Linked DNA regions of Homo sapiens: all the other regions are linked to region 1. Evidence: promoter capture Hi-C in 16 types of primary human blood cells and fetal thymus (Javierre and others, 2016). All regions are on one chromosome and are shown on one strand. The core of a region is centred on a gene start or on the middle of the fragment in contact, and the rest is flanking DNA. Distances in the headings are between cores, read along the strand shown. Region 1 holds the start of SMARCAD1 (SNF2 related chromatin remodeling ATPase with DExD box 1). Region 2 holds the start of ADH5 (alcohol dehydrogenase 5 (class III), chi polypeptide). Region 3 holds the start of MIR3684 (microRNA 3684). Region 4 holds the start of STPG2 (sperm tail PG-rich repeat containing 2).

Region 1 (3,205 bases), core at 353-2,852:
AAATATAACTTCCAACATTCCTTTCACCTTTCCTAAGAAACTAACTAATTAGTTTATGCTCAGGAATCATACTGCCAGGACTTGAGTTCAGGCTCTACCAAGTTCCTAATAACCTCTCTGAATCTCATTTCACATTAACCTCTATGTCAGTAATATCTACCTTGTAGGATTATTGTGCAAATTAAATGACAGAAGGTGAAGCACTTATCACTATTCCTATAATACAACAAGAGCTCAAATATATTCCTCTAATAGTTAACTGTTCAATGAACATAGATTCGAGTGGAAATCTTAATTTTTGGCTTATCCTCAAATACTTTTGTCTCTGACAATCTGCTGATGAGGTTAAAAATGTTCATTCACCATGAAGAATACCAATTACTCATTTGCATTCTGAGGACATCCAGGAAGTCAGGTGGATGCAAGAACTTGATGTGATCTGATCTTCCCTTGTGTACAGAGGTTGTCTTTAGGCACCTTGCTCAATGTCTAGCTCACAGTAGATGATCAATATTTTGAGGGAATACTGGAATGAATGAAAATGTCTGCCCAAATAGCCTCAAAGTTTATCATAGGACTGAATCACTGACATCGCTCTTCCAATAGCAACCGTTCTGACCTATGGATGCCCTAAATTCTAATTTCAACTTCCACCATGGGGCCATATTCGAAGAACTCATATAAAAGTGAGGCGACAATGGATGGATGCTCAGTTGAGGGTACATGGTGCTTATGGCAGTCCCAAAGCTGTATTTAAAAGGGCACACCGCAGGACAATGCATCAATATATATGACATCAAGAATAAAAATGAGAATCCCTTCTGCCTTTCATCTTTTAAAAACTGTCCTTGATGTTACATCAATTTTAACATTGTAACTCACCTGTTTTTTCAGTTATATCTGAATCAGGAGTGTTTGCCCTGCTAACTTCCCCTTCAGCATTCTCCTCTTCAGCACTAAGAGAAATTGGTGAAGAAGGGCCAGGCTGGGAAGGTTGAGGGGTTGCTTCGGGCGCTTCCTCAATCTTATTCCTTTTCTCAAAGCGAAAACGGTCCAGGTTGAAAAGATTCATATTGGTAGAAAGCACCACCTTGCAGGGATGGGGGCTTTAAATGAACTATCTGCAGGGGAAAAATAAAGAGAGGAAAAAAGGCCATGAAAACAATATACGATACAATGCCACAGCAGTTTATTCCCAAGGCAATAAAGGGCCCGCAAACATGCCAGTGGCTCAGGACTGTTATGGCTGCGCTTCATTGTTAGGCCGCAACAATTAGAAGGTGGACGGGGGTATCTTTTAAAATTTTCCATTGCTTTTCACTCCCCTTCGTCCGCCTCCCCCGCCCGCCCCTCCTTACTGAAACCACGAGCTGACCCTCATGCAACCTCCTCTTACCCAAGCACGCGCAGGCACGTTCCCCAGTATAACCCCCTAGCGGGCCTCGCGCCCGCCCACAAAGAGAAGCTCCCTGTGCTACCGTGCCCCCTGCCTCGAGAAAGGACCTGCCAGGGCCCGCGCCTCGACACTGCGGGGACACAAAGGGGCCAAAGAAGGGGAGCGGCGGAGGCCGTGCTGGCGGGCATCCGCCCGGAAGTTGACGCGGCGCGATCCCAGCTGAGAGGAAGCTGATAGGATTAAGAACACACAGGAAGGTTCAGAGGTGGAGTGCATGCTAAGGCATCTTTTTAACGTTCAATCGCTCGCTTGTTCTTTCTTCCCTCAGTACTTACGATCTTGTAGCCTCAGTGCTATGTAACAAAGGTTGAAAATAAAAAAAAAATTTCCTAGCGTGGGGCGACGGTAGCCGTGCCGGGACCTTCCAAAACACCACGGAGAAACCTTAAGAGCGCGTAATGATGACGCAACACGCAGCCTAGGCTTTTTCTTCCCAAACAACGCGCGAGCCGACAATGTCGAGGCGCGCGCTGTTGTCATGGTAATTCGTACCCGTCTCCGCCGGCTTGTAAGGGCCAGATTGTTCTGTACCTTTGTCCTGTTAAATTATCTAGAGAGTTATTAAATAGAACAATAGTAAATAGCATAATGACAAAAAATAACAATATATAATACAATTAGTATATATTGTATGTATTATAATCTGTAGTGTTTCACCTATAATATAATGTAGATAGCATAATAGTAATAATACTGTGCTAAGCTTTTTCAGTGTATAATCCCAATCCTTACAAGAAGCCTATGTTTACAAAGCAAAGAAACTGAGACCTGCAAATGTATAGGTAATTAGTGACGGATAAGAACCCCGGGATGCTGAGCTTCAAAGCATTTAAAGTAATTCCTCACTTTCGGCTTGATTGTTCTTAGAATGGAATTTGATTAATTAATTAATTTTTTAAAAATATTTTAATTTTTAATGTTTGCGGGTACATAGTAGGTGTACATATTTATAGGGTACATGAGATATTTTGATACAGGCATGCAATGTGTAATAATCATATCAGGGTAAGTGGGGTATCCATAACAAGCATTTATCCTTTGTGTTTCAAACAATCCAGTTATTTTAGTCATTTAAAAATGTACAATAAGCTGGGAGTGGTGGCTCACGCCTGTAATCCCAGCACTTTGGGGGGCTGAGGCAGGTGAATCACAAGGTCAGGAGTTTGAGACCAGCCTAGCCAACATGGTGAAACTCCGTCTCTGCTAAATATACAAAAAATTAGCCGGGCGTAGTGGCGGGCGCCTGTAATCTCAGCTAATCGGGAGGCTGAGGCAGGAGAATAGCTTGAACCTGGGATGCGGAGGTTGCAGTTAGCCGAGATCACTCCACTGCACTCCACCCTGGGCAACAAAGCAAGACTCTTGTCTCAAAAAAAAAAGTACAATAAATTGTTGTTGACTGTAGTCATGCTATTGTGCTATCAAATACTAGATCTTATTCATTCAAACTGTATTTTCGTACCCATTAACCATGCTCACCGACCACCGGGGTCCTCCCCCGCCCCACACTACCCTTCCCAGCCTCTGGTAGCCATCGTTCTACCGTTTCTCATACGTTCAATTGTTTTAATTTTTTAGCTCCCACAAATATAATAAATGAGAACATACCAAGTTTTTTTTCTGTGCCTGCCTTATTTCCTTTAATATAATGACCTCCAGTTCCATCCATGTTGCAAATGACAGGATCTCATTTTTTTTAATGGCGAAATAATACTCCACTGTGTATATGCACCACATTTTTCTTATTCA
Region 2 (3,205 bases), core at 450-2,949, 4.9 Mb before region 1:
AGAAGAATGGTATTTATTTATTTATTTATTTATTTATTTATAGCCTAACTCATTCAAAAATTATTGAAGGAAAATAGGAAATGGCATTGATTGATGTTACGTTTTGGAAAGATCACTAACAGGGCATTCCTTTTTAAGTATTAGATTCAAGGGCCTGGCATCAAAGAAATCAGATGGGAGGCTCTTTCAGTAATCCTGTAAGAAATTATGAAAGCCTGAACTAATACAGCAGCAGTGGGGAGAGAGAGGCACAAGACCAGAGAGATATTTAGGGCTTGGTGACAAACTGAATGCAGGGACCGAGGGAGAGGGAGAAGTTGTGACTCTCATGTTTCTGGCTAGGGTAAGTATGTGGAGAGTGTCAACACACAGAGGAAAGAGTCCCTATAAGGAGAAAATATTAATAGGAGTTTTAGGAGTTGCATTCGATTGTGAGATATCCTAATGGAGACAGAAATCCAGTAGGCAGTTACATGTCCAAGTCTGGAGTTTAGGGGAGCCATCCTGATTGGAGATAATAATCTGGTAGTCATCTTTCCATAAATAGACGTTAAAAGCCAAAGTGTGAGTGAGAGAGTGGAGTGAAAGGACGGAAAGACTTTGGACAATCTTACCATATGTACCCGGAAAAGAGCCAAGAAAAAGACTGAAAGACAGAAAAGAGCAGTGTGTCTGACAGAGCTATTTTAACAAAATTCAGCGTTTACAACAGAGTTTAAGAGTAAACTGGCAGGCCAGGTGCGGTGGCTCATGCCCGTAATCCCAGCACTTTGGGAGGCTGAGGTGGGTGAATCACTTGAGGTTAGGAGTTCAAGACCAGACTGGCATACATGGTGAGACCAACCCCCTGCCCCCACTCCCAATCTCTACTAAAAATACAAAATTGAGCCAGCGTGGTGGCGTGTGCCTGTGATCCCAACTACTCAGGAGGCTGAGGCACGAGAATCACTTGAACCTAGGAGGCGGAGGTTGCAGTGACCCGAGATCGCGCCACTGCACTCCAGCCTGGGCGACAGTGCGAGACTCCGTCTCAAACAAACAAAGAAAGAGTAAACCGACAAATACTACATTCTCTCTCTCTACACTCTGGCCCACTCTTAACACAAAAAACTGTCCAGGATCAGGAGACTTTTTGTTCTCCTCATCTCCTCCTTCCAAAGTTCTCTGCCCACGTTCTACTGTCTCCCCAAAATCCTACCTACCCTTCAGGAACTGCTGGAATGGGAGCTTGGGAAGTTTCAGCAAACTCCTCTCTCCTCCTTTGTGGCCCCTTTATTCCCAAAGCTGTGTCCTCTCCCTATGACGAGTCCCTTGAGGGGCTGTATCTTACTCCTTGTGTCTCCAAGCACACATAATGTGTATTAGGGGAGGAAGCATTCGCCAGTGGAGCACAAAGCTGTTGCAGGTCTCTTACTGGTTCTCAGGCGCTTTCAGTGAAATTCCCGTTCCCTCACCGTCCACATCTGTAATTTGCAAGTCTTATCTACGATAACTGCTGTAAAGTTACACGGGGAAGCCCTTTCCCGACAAAAAAAACGAGTTCTGCAACAAGTCCGTCGGATTTTAGCAATGAAACCGGCGCCGTGCAGCCTCGCCGGCGAGTGCACCCTGGAACGCACAACTTAGCGGCACGCACCACAGCTCGAGCACCGCCCTTCCGGTTGGAGCCATTGCAAGCCCCCCCCACGCCCCGCCCCCCTCGCTAGGCGCTCGCCACGCCCATGCCTCCGTCGCTGCGCGGCCCACCCCGGATGTCAGCCCCCCGCGCCGACCAGAATCCGTGAACATGGCGAACGAGGTAGGGCCCGTTGAGCGGAGGGCCCTGAGTCCAAGGGAGGGAGTGCATGGCATGGGACTAGGCTGCTATCCTCGGGGGCGCGCGAGGCTCGGCGCCCAAGACGGGATCTGGCTCTTGGTTCTGAAACTGGGCCCCCAGCGAGCGGCTCAGAGGGGCAGAAAGAGAAGGAAGCTTTGTCTCGGCTCTTCAGTTGGGAAGCAGCTTTCTTTGCTGCTTCTGGGACAGTCGGAACGGGGTGGGGGGGTGGGAGAGCCGGAGAGTGGGGGGCAGGGGCTGGTCAGGTCGGTATCCCAGTGGAAATGGCTTAGGAGCGGCCACGCATTGCTTCTTACACGAAATTAAGTAACTCGCTCTGGGTCATTCTTGCAGCTTGCATACTTGGCAGAGCTGCAGCCAGATCCCGTGCTTCTAACTCCTAGGTTGCTTGTGTTGCATAATTGAGCCTACGCCTTAATTATTGTGCCTCCAAGGAGTGTATTTTGGAAAGACCCCTACGTCCCTTTCAGAAACATTTTCGAGCACTTAAATACCAAGAGATTTATATTCCCTCTAGTCCTCACGTAACAAACACCTCTGCGAGGTGTTATCCCCATCTTACCAAAAACTGAGGTTTGAGGTTGGTTGTGCTTGGTCACACCAACGATGGCGAGCTGGGATTCCGACCCAGGTCTGCTCCTCTATGACAAATTCATAAAATACAAATTAGACAGTAAAGAAAGGCAGAAATTACGAATAACATACTCAGTCTAAAGTTGCTGATTATTTTAATGTTTTGCAATTTTGGACATTTTCTAGTAAGACAAATGGCCTTAAACATATTGGAGTTTGAAAGAAATAAACTCTAAACAGTCTTTCAGACTTAAACTGGTAGTTGCTTTTCCTTATTACTGAGTGTCTTTATTCAGAGAAGGTGAAAGATTATAATTGTTACTATAGTTCAAATGTTGAAGTAGGGCCATTTCCCGCGGATTTAGAGTGGGGCTTTGTTTTGCTTAGAATTGTCAGTAAAAGGAAAAGGTTAGGCTCCATTAAGACATTTTTTAAAGGGGAGCAGGCCATCAAATTTAGTATTCTTGTTTCTTTGGATTCCTATGTTGCATAACTTAATTGTTAGTATTCTGAATCTGACTTGTGGAGTTGAAATTTATGGCACATTGAAATGAAAAAGGTTCTAATGCAGTGTCTGATTCTTTGTACTATGAGATTTAATATCTGCAATTTAATTTTAAAAACGATCATTTCCACATTTCCAACCTCACCAATTTACAGAGGCCATTTCCCTCCCCCCCCCCTCCCCCGCCAGTTCAGACGGAGTTTCGCTCTTTGTTTCCCAGGCTGGAGTGCGATAGCGCGATCTTGGGTCACTGCAACCTTTGCCTCCCGGGTTCAAGCGATTCTCCTGTCTCA
Region 3 (3,205 bases), core at 491-2,990, 4.8 Mb before region 1:
GAGTGTATCAACAATATACTATACTATTCAGTGTTTACAAAGGATAATGTAAATACAGAATTTCTTTGTTTTCCATTGCAAGCCCACTGATGTCTTTTCTTTCATGTAAGGAAATGAGGGCCTACTGTGGGCAAGGCACTTTGGAAAATACAAAAATGAGTAAAACACACCCTCTGTCCTCAAAAAATTCTTACACACAAATGAAAAAGACATACATAAACTATTAAATAGGAAGGAAAACTTCTATTAATAAACACAATCGAACATCAAGAACTCTTGGAAAACTCAATTTTCAAGTAAAACTGGTTGTACTCCTCTAAAGAACAAAAGCTTTCCTTAAAATCAAACATCCTAGGCTGGCACAGTGGCTCATGCCTGTAATCCTAGCACTTTGGGAGGCTGAGGTAGGCGGATCACGAGGTCAGGAGTTACAGACCATCCTAGCTAACACGGTGAAAGCCCGTCTCTACTAAAAATACAAAAAAATTAGCCAGGCGTGGTGGTGCGCACCTGTAATCTCAGCTACTGGGGAGGCTGAAGCAGCAGAATCGCTTGAACCCGGGAGGCAGAGGTTGCAGTGAGCCGAGATCACACCACTGCACTCCAGCCTGGGTGACAGAGCAAGACTCGGTCTCAAAAAAAAAAAAAAAAAAAATTAAGCATCCTAGATAAAATATTTCTACTTTCCTAAACATAAAACAGTATAACAATAAAAAGAGCTAACATTCATTAAGTTTACTAATATGCTAAGAGCTTTACATACTTTGGATTTAGTCTTCATCAAAACCCTGAGATAGGTATTATTAATAGCCCCATTTTAAAAAGATACAGCTGAAAAAGAGAGGTTATTTGCCCAAGTCACATAACTAGTAAATGATGGAGCTGTGATTCAAACACAGCAGTATACCTCTCTATTTTGATGCATTTATCCATTAATTCAAACATTTAATGGCCACCTACTGCATACAGAGCATCATACTGGGAAATGAGAACAGGGCAGTGAACAAGATAGGATCATTCATGAAGTTCACCTTCCGACTAAAAAACAGACATTCTCGGCCGGGCATGGTGGCTCACGCCTGTAATCCCAGCACTTTGGGAGGCCAAGGAGGGTGGATCACCTGAGGTCAGCAGTTCGAGACCAGCCTCAACATGGAGAAACCCCATCTCTGCTAAAAATACAAAATTAGCTGAGCGTGGTGGTGCATGCCTGTAATTCCATCTACTTGCGAGGCTGAGGCAGGAGAACTGCTTGAACCTGGGAGGCGGAGGTTGCGGTGAGTCGAGATCGCACCATTGCACTCCAGCCTGGGCAACAAAAGCGAAACTCCGTCTCAAAAAAAAAAAAAATCCTCATTTTTCTAACAGGTGAGGTAATCATAGATTGCACAAAAGGTCATAAAGGAATAAACAAGGTGGTGTGACAGAGTAACTGGGAATGCCTTACTTCTGTTAATGGTGTGATAGAAAGGCCTCTTGCAGTTTTGTTCTGTTTGTTCCCAAAGACAAGCTGGCCAGACAGCCAGGCCAGGGACCAGAGCAGTAGAAAGAAAGACCTCCTAGTGATCACAGAAGTGTTAAGGAAAATCCCTAATTTCTTCTTTTTGGTTTTTTGTTTTGTTTTGTTTTTGTTTTTTTCTTGAGACGGAGTCTTGCTCTGTTGCCCAGGATAGAGTGCAGTGGTGCAACCTCGGCTCACTGCAACCTCCACCACCCAGGTTCAAGTGATTCTTGTGTCTCAGCCTCCTGAGTAGCTGGGACTACAGGCGTGTGCCACCACGCCCAGCTAATTTTTGTATTTTTAGTAGAGACAGGGTTTTGACATGTTGCCCAGTCTGGTCTCAAACTCCTGACCTCAGGTGATCCACCCGCCTAGGCCTCCCAAAGTGCTGAGATTACAGGTGTGAGCCACCATGCCCAGCCAAGCCCATATTTCATCACAGATGTATAAAGCGCTTAGAATAAGTTACAGTGACTTGATCAAGGTCTCAAGCTGGGATTGGGGGAACAGCTGTGATTTCAGAAGACAGGTGACACTTCGGAAAGGAAAGAATGTAAACATAGCCTTTGGCTAGAGCAAGAGGCTCAGAAGAGGGGCCCTGAATGTGGGGCTGGAATCCTGAAAGCAATGAGGGATACGCATAATCAGACTGCGGGAAAAATAACTTCTGTACAAAAGGTTTTGTTTGATAGGGTTTTTTGTGGGCGTTTGTTTGCAAGGGGAGGAATTACAGTAGAGAAATAAATTAAGAGAGTATGACAACTGATTTGGTGGGAAATTTTAAAAGCTGACCATAGGAGGTGGTAACAGAAATGAAGAAAAAGAGACAGTTGGGACAGCCACTCTGGGAATATTTGAGTGCATGTCTAACAGTGATACCAGAAATATACCTGCAGAATCCAACATGTAAATACCTCCAATCCTAACACACGGAATAAACCCTAGATGTTTTGTTTTCACAAATTTGTCTAGCATTTTTCCACAAACCCCAGTGATTCACCTTCTTTCTACCTGTTTCATGAATGTGGTTTCACACTACCTTTTTAAAATCTTAACAGAAGATTGTAATACATATTAATTCAAAATGCCACCTACTTTTAAAGTTATTCTACTCAGATGGTACAACTGTCAAAAGCAAACACTGTTTCTTAATTTCAGGTCCCACACAGGCCACAACAAGATAGAATTTGGGAATTTTAAAGAATCTAAAGGACGTGTACTAGGTCTAACATGAGTAATGCTCAACATGTTAAACCTAGTACAGGTCCTTTAGATTGTTCGGTAATGCTATTTTTAGATCAAGCAACACTCCTCCACGTGCAAGTTTTTCCAAATTATACTAACAAGGTCAAGGATCATATCCTATCTAAAAACAAGACTGTATAACACAGCTAAGACCTTTTGCAATCGCTTATCTACAAATATTGTGACGTAAAGATTGTATTTATTTATATCTTTACGTTTTTATGTTTTATGTTGGAAAACACTTTTATTATTTGTATTGTGTTCATATATCTGCCTTCATTCTTATTCATATTTTTATTTATGGCAGAGTTAAATCGTACTAGAATCCTTTAAAAAATAAAGGACTTTACATTATAACAGCATTTCACGTTCCTTGGATAATCTGGGTCTCAGAAGAAGCTTGTGAAACTTACAAAGAAAGCTATAATCATCCCCTCTGTACAGTGTAACACTGGAACT
Region 4 (3,205 bases), core at 473-2,972, 3.9 Mb before region 1:
CTTTACCATTTCCATTTCCAATCTCCAAAAATATGTATATTCAAGCAAAGAGTAATGTAGACTACTGCAGACAGAATGGCCAGACAGGGCTTGAAATTCTGCATCAATGCTTACGGCAACCATGGCCTAGACCTGAGTATGCAGTTTGGGTTGATATCCTTGTTTGGATCATCAAGGTCAAATGATGTCCTTAAGGACATAGCGGGCAAATTTACAAGCACCACTGGATTATCATACACAGCACATGAATTTTTCTCTTTCATCTCTGTGACTCTTTCTAATATGTCATAGTAAATATCTAGATCTTCTGAATGGGTATAGGTGGCAGCTTGGAAAATAAGGTTAAAACAACATTGAGAGAATTATGAGGGTTTCTGACAGAATGCAGGGAGAATCGAAGTTGGTGAGATGTTTCCAAAATATTGCAATATTCATTTTCCTACCATTAAAAAAAATCTTTGCCACCTCTCGTTTTGGATTATACGTCTCTTTCCCCATTAGAGAGAGAACACCTGAGGGCAGGGACTTTCTTATGCCTTTGTATCCTCATAACTTAGCAGGGATGGAACCTACAGTATATGCCAATTCGTGTTTTTTAAGTGCATAAATAATTTAGCTAGCTATTGAACAGAAAAAAAGGTACTACAGATACATCCTTGAGAAGCATATAGCCTCGCAAGGAGAGGGTTCCGACCTATATGGCACAATGAAGCCACAGTAAATGTTGCACAGGATTGAGTGGCAAATCGTGTATTACAGAGTATGAAAACTATAAAAACTTGTAGTAGGAACAAATTAACGTACTGTAGACCATTTGGAGGTGAGGTATGATCAAGGTAGGATTTGTCTAAGCCTCTGAGGATATTTATAATCTGGACAGAATTCTTGCTAGAAAAAACAGCCTGCGAGATGCAGAGGTGGATTCTGACATAGATTCCTTAAGCCCCAAGGACAAGCAAGGTTTCTTTTGCCCAAGGTTCAGAATCATTGGTTTGGTGGGGTGGACTGGGCTTTTTCAGTGCCTTCGCTTTGCTTTTTAAATATTGATGAATCAGTATTGTGGTTACCTGGCATACGACAAAAGAGGCAGCTTTCAGTCACTTCCACGGCTTCAGTTGGTGAGCTTTTCGCCTCCTTGCCTGGTGTCCTCATTTCTTTTTTTTTTTTTTTCTTTTTTACCCTTATCTTATTTGTTATTTTTTTTTCTGGGTTCTCCATTTCTTGTCACTGCCCTGAGCCCTGGGTTTGTCTTAGCAGTTTGGACTATCTACAGGTTAAGATCAGAGGTGCCTTTTCTCTGTGAGTACGAGTGGGGCTGCAGTAGAAGCGGGGGAGAGCTTGCGGAACCCCAAGCTCTCTGCTTCATGCTACTGCATTTTTCTTTACTAGGTTCTGTTGAGTCGGGAAGCAGATCAAGGTCAAGTTAGTCCTCACCCTTCCTAACGCGTTTTCTAAGGTTCTTCTGCATACTTAAAAAAGTTCGGGACCTAAGTAGTTACCGGGACCCCAAGAGCTACGAGGTTTAGGCCTGCCTTCTTCAAGGCGCGCCGGGTTCCGGGTAAAAAGAGCCGGGAAAGGGTGGCTGCTCGGTGCGCATGCTCCGAGGGCTCGGCCCAGGAAGGCACCTCCACTTCGCTCCCTAGAGACTGGGCCCGCCTCCTCCCCAGAGACTGGGCCCGCCTCCTCCCCAGGCTTCCGGGCGGAGAGAAGTGGGCGGAGTCAGGGCCGGAAGCACCGGGGCGAGCGTCTAATCCCTAATACCCAATTTTGGTGGCGTGCACCTGGCAAACTGATGATTGTGTGGGACGTCTAATCTCTAGTCGCTCACCCCTCTACTTTACCACAGAGCTAGAAATCGATTTGAGGAAATCTGGTATCAATGAGCGGGCGGGGAGACAACCCCACCCCTAATTTCCCTGTTTACGGAAGTTCTTTCCCGGCCTCCTCAGACTGGTGTCGGCTTCCTTTTTCTCCACACTTCTAGCTACCTTGTTTTTATCGTTTTCGGCACCTGCCCTTCCCCAGCGCCCCCACCACCCCGAGCACTATGTATGATCGGGCTCCCCGCCTGCTCAAATTGGCTGAAGGTGGCAGCACTGAGGCCCATGTGGGTCCTGGATCCTACCAGGTACCTTTCCTGAAGCAGCAGGCGACAGGTAAGATGTAGGAAGAGGCAGAGCTCCTGTGACAGGCATCCTATCTTCAGCCTGCTCCGCTTCTGCGTGCTTGTGAGTTAAACATAGAGCGGAATAGTACCATTTTGTAAACATAACAAAACATGAAGTAGGCAGGGAAAACACTATACTTTTATTTTACAGATGAGACTGATAGTATCACTTGTCCCATTTCAAAAGGCTGGTGAGCATATGGCTAGGACTTTTGATTCCGCAATAGTTGTCTACATCCTACTTTTGATTGTGCAGTTTAGGTCTAGGATTTTGATTTCCTGGCTGTGTTGACATAATATATGAGTCTCCAAATCCTGTGCCCTTACCTCCCGCTGTCTCGTTGCTTTGTAATCCTGCCTGCCTCACATCTTTCCTCCCATTAACCAGAGACATTTATTTATTAAGATGTAGCTTATATTTCTATTTTGCAGTATTATTTAAAGATAGTTCCGTTTTTTTTTCAGACAGATTTTTCTGACCGTCCTCATCTCTTTTAACACACTTCAGGGGAGCCCCTTTTCTCCACATTCTGTAAAGAAAAATTATATTTTTGACCAGTGGAGTGGGGATGGATAATTTAAATAATATTTGCTCTCCTCGTTTGTTTGCAGTTAGTGACTTAGTCAAAAATAAATACATCAATTTTGCTTTCTACTTTTTCTATTCTGGTGATTTTCTGGAGCTTAATACCGTCCAAATGATAGTTTTTCTTAACCTACATTTTCCCCATACCTACACTATGTATTTTCAAGCAAATGCCAGGATCCATTATTCTGTTACATAACTGATCAGATAAGGGAAGGTTTAGGTTTCTTGGGGTGGAGTACAAATTTGACTTCTGTCAGTGTTTCACATGTTGAATTGTACTGCTTCACAGTATCTGGTATCACTATTCTTGCAGCTTATTCTATCTTTATTTTAATGGAGTTGGGCATTATAAGCATTAATTCCCCTAACAATGGCTAACAATGACCCCCTGTGACACTTTGCAATCCTTAATTTTGACATAACTGACCACTTTATTCTTGGAAACACTT

Evidence for each region. The method cuts DNA at HindIII sites, captures the fragments that hold promoters and counts their contacts. A CHiCAGO score of 5 or more calls a contact.
Region 2: the fragment with the promoter of ADH5 here is called in contact with the fragment with the promoter of SMARCAD1 in region 1 in 6 of 17 cell types (fetal thymus, non-activated CD4 T cells, total CD8 T cells and 3 more); the score reaches 16.5 in fetal thymus.
Region 3: a fragment that was not itself captured here is called in contact with the fragment with the promoter of SMARCAD1 in region 1 in 1 of 17 cell types (naive CD8 T cells); the score reaches 9.0 in naive CD8 T cells.
Region 4: a contact is called between the fragment with the promoter of STPG2 here and the fragment with the promoter of SMARCAD1 in region 1, in 3 of 17 cell types (fetal thymus, activated CD4 T cells and total CD4 T cells). The highest score is 8.8, in fetal thymus.

What each region holds. Positions count from the first base shown.
Region 1 is chr4:94,206,262-94,209,466 of GRCh38, reverse strand. SMARCAD1 (SNF2 related chromatin remodeling ATPase with DExD box 1) reads right to left here and starts at 1,602. Exons shown (of 24, transcript NM_020159.5): 1 at 1,397-1,602; 2 at 883-1,121. The coding sequence starts at 1,072. SMARCAD1-DT (SMARCAD1 divergent transcript) reads left to right here and starts at 1,911. Exons shown (of 9, transcript NR_125922.1): 1 at 1,911-1,937. RefSeq lists enhancers at 1,022-1,525, 1,624-1,983. The HindIII fragment of the contact is 2,630 bases long and covers 1-2,161 here.
Region 2 is chr4:99,087,282-99,090,486 of GRCh38, reverse strand. It overlaps ADH5 (alcohol dehydrogenase 5 (class III), chi polypeptide), which reads left to right and starts at 1,699. Exons shown (of 9, transcript NM_000671.4): 1 at 1,699-1,798. The coding sequence starts at 1,787. It overlaps LOC100507053 (a long non-coding RNA gene), which reads right to left and starts at 1,630. Exons shown (of 10, transcript NR_037884.1): 1 at 1,203-1,630. RefSeq lists a silencer at 1,667-1,716 and a promoter at 501-1,754. The HindIII fragment of the contact is 7,789 bases long and covers 1-1,971 here.
Region 3 is chr4:98,996,959-99,000,163 of GRCh38, reverse strand. The region is part of intron 1 of METAP1 (methionyl aminopeptidase 1); the gene reads right to left. MIR3684 (microRNA 3684) reads right to left here and starts at 2,777; the gene lies at 2,704-2,777. The HindIII fragment of the contact is 2,815 bases long and covers 333-3,147 here.
Region 4 is chr4:98,141,993-98,145,197 of GRCh38, reverse strand. It overlaps STPG2 (sperm tail PG-rich repeat containing 2), which reads left to right and starts at 1,722. Exons shown (of 11, transcript NM_174952.3): 1 at 1,722-2,156. The coding sequence starts at 2,048. RefSeq lists an enhancer at 1,896-1,995. The HindIII fragment of the contact is 14,460 bases long and covers 1-3,205 here.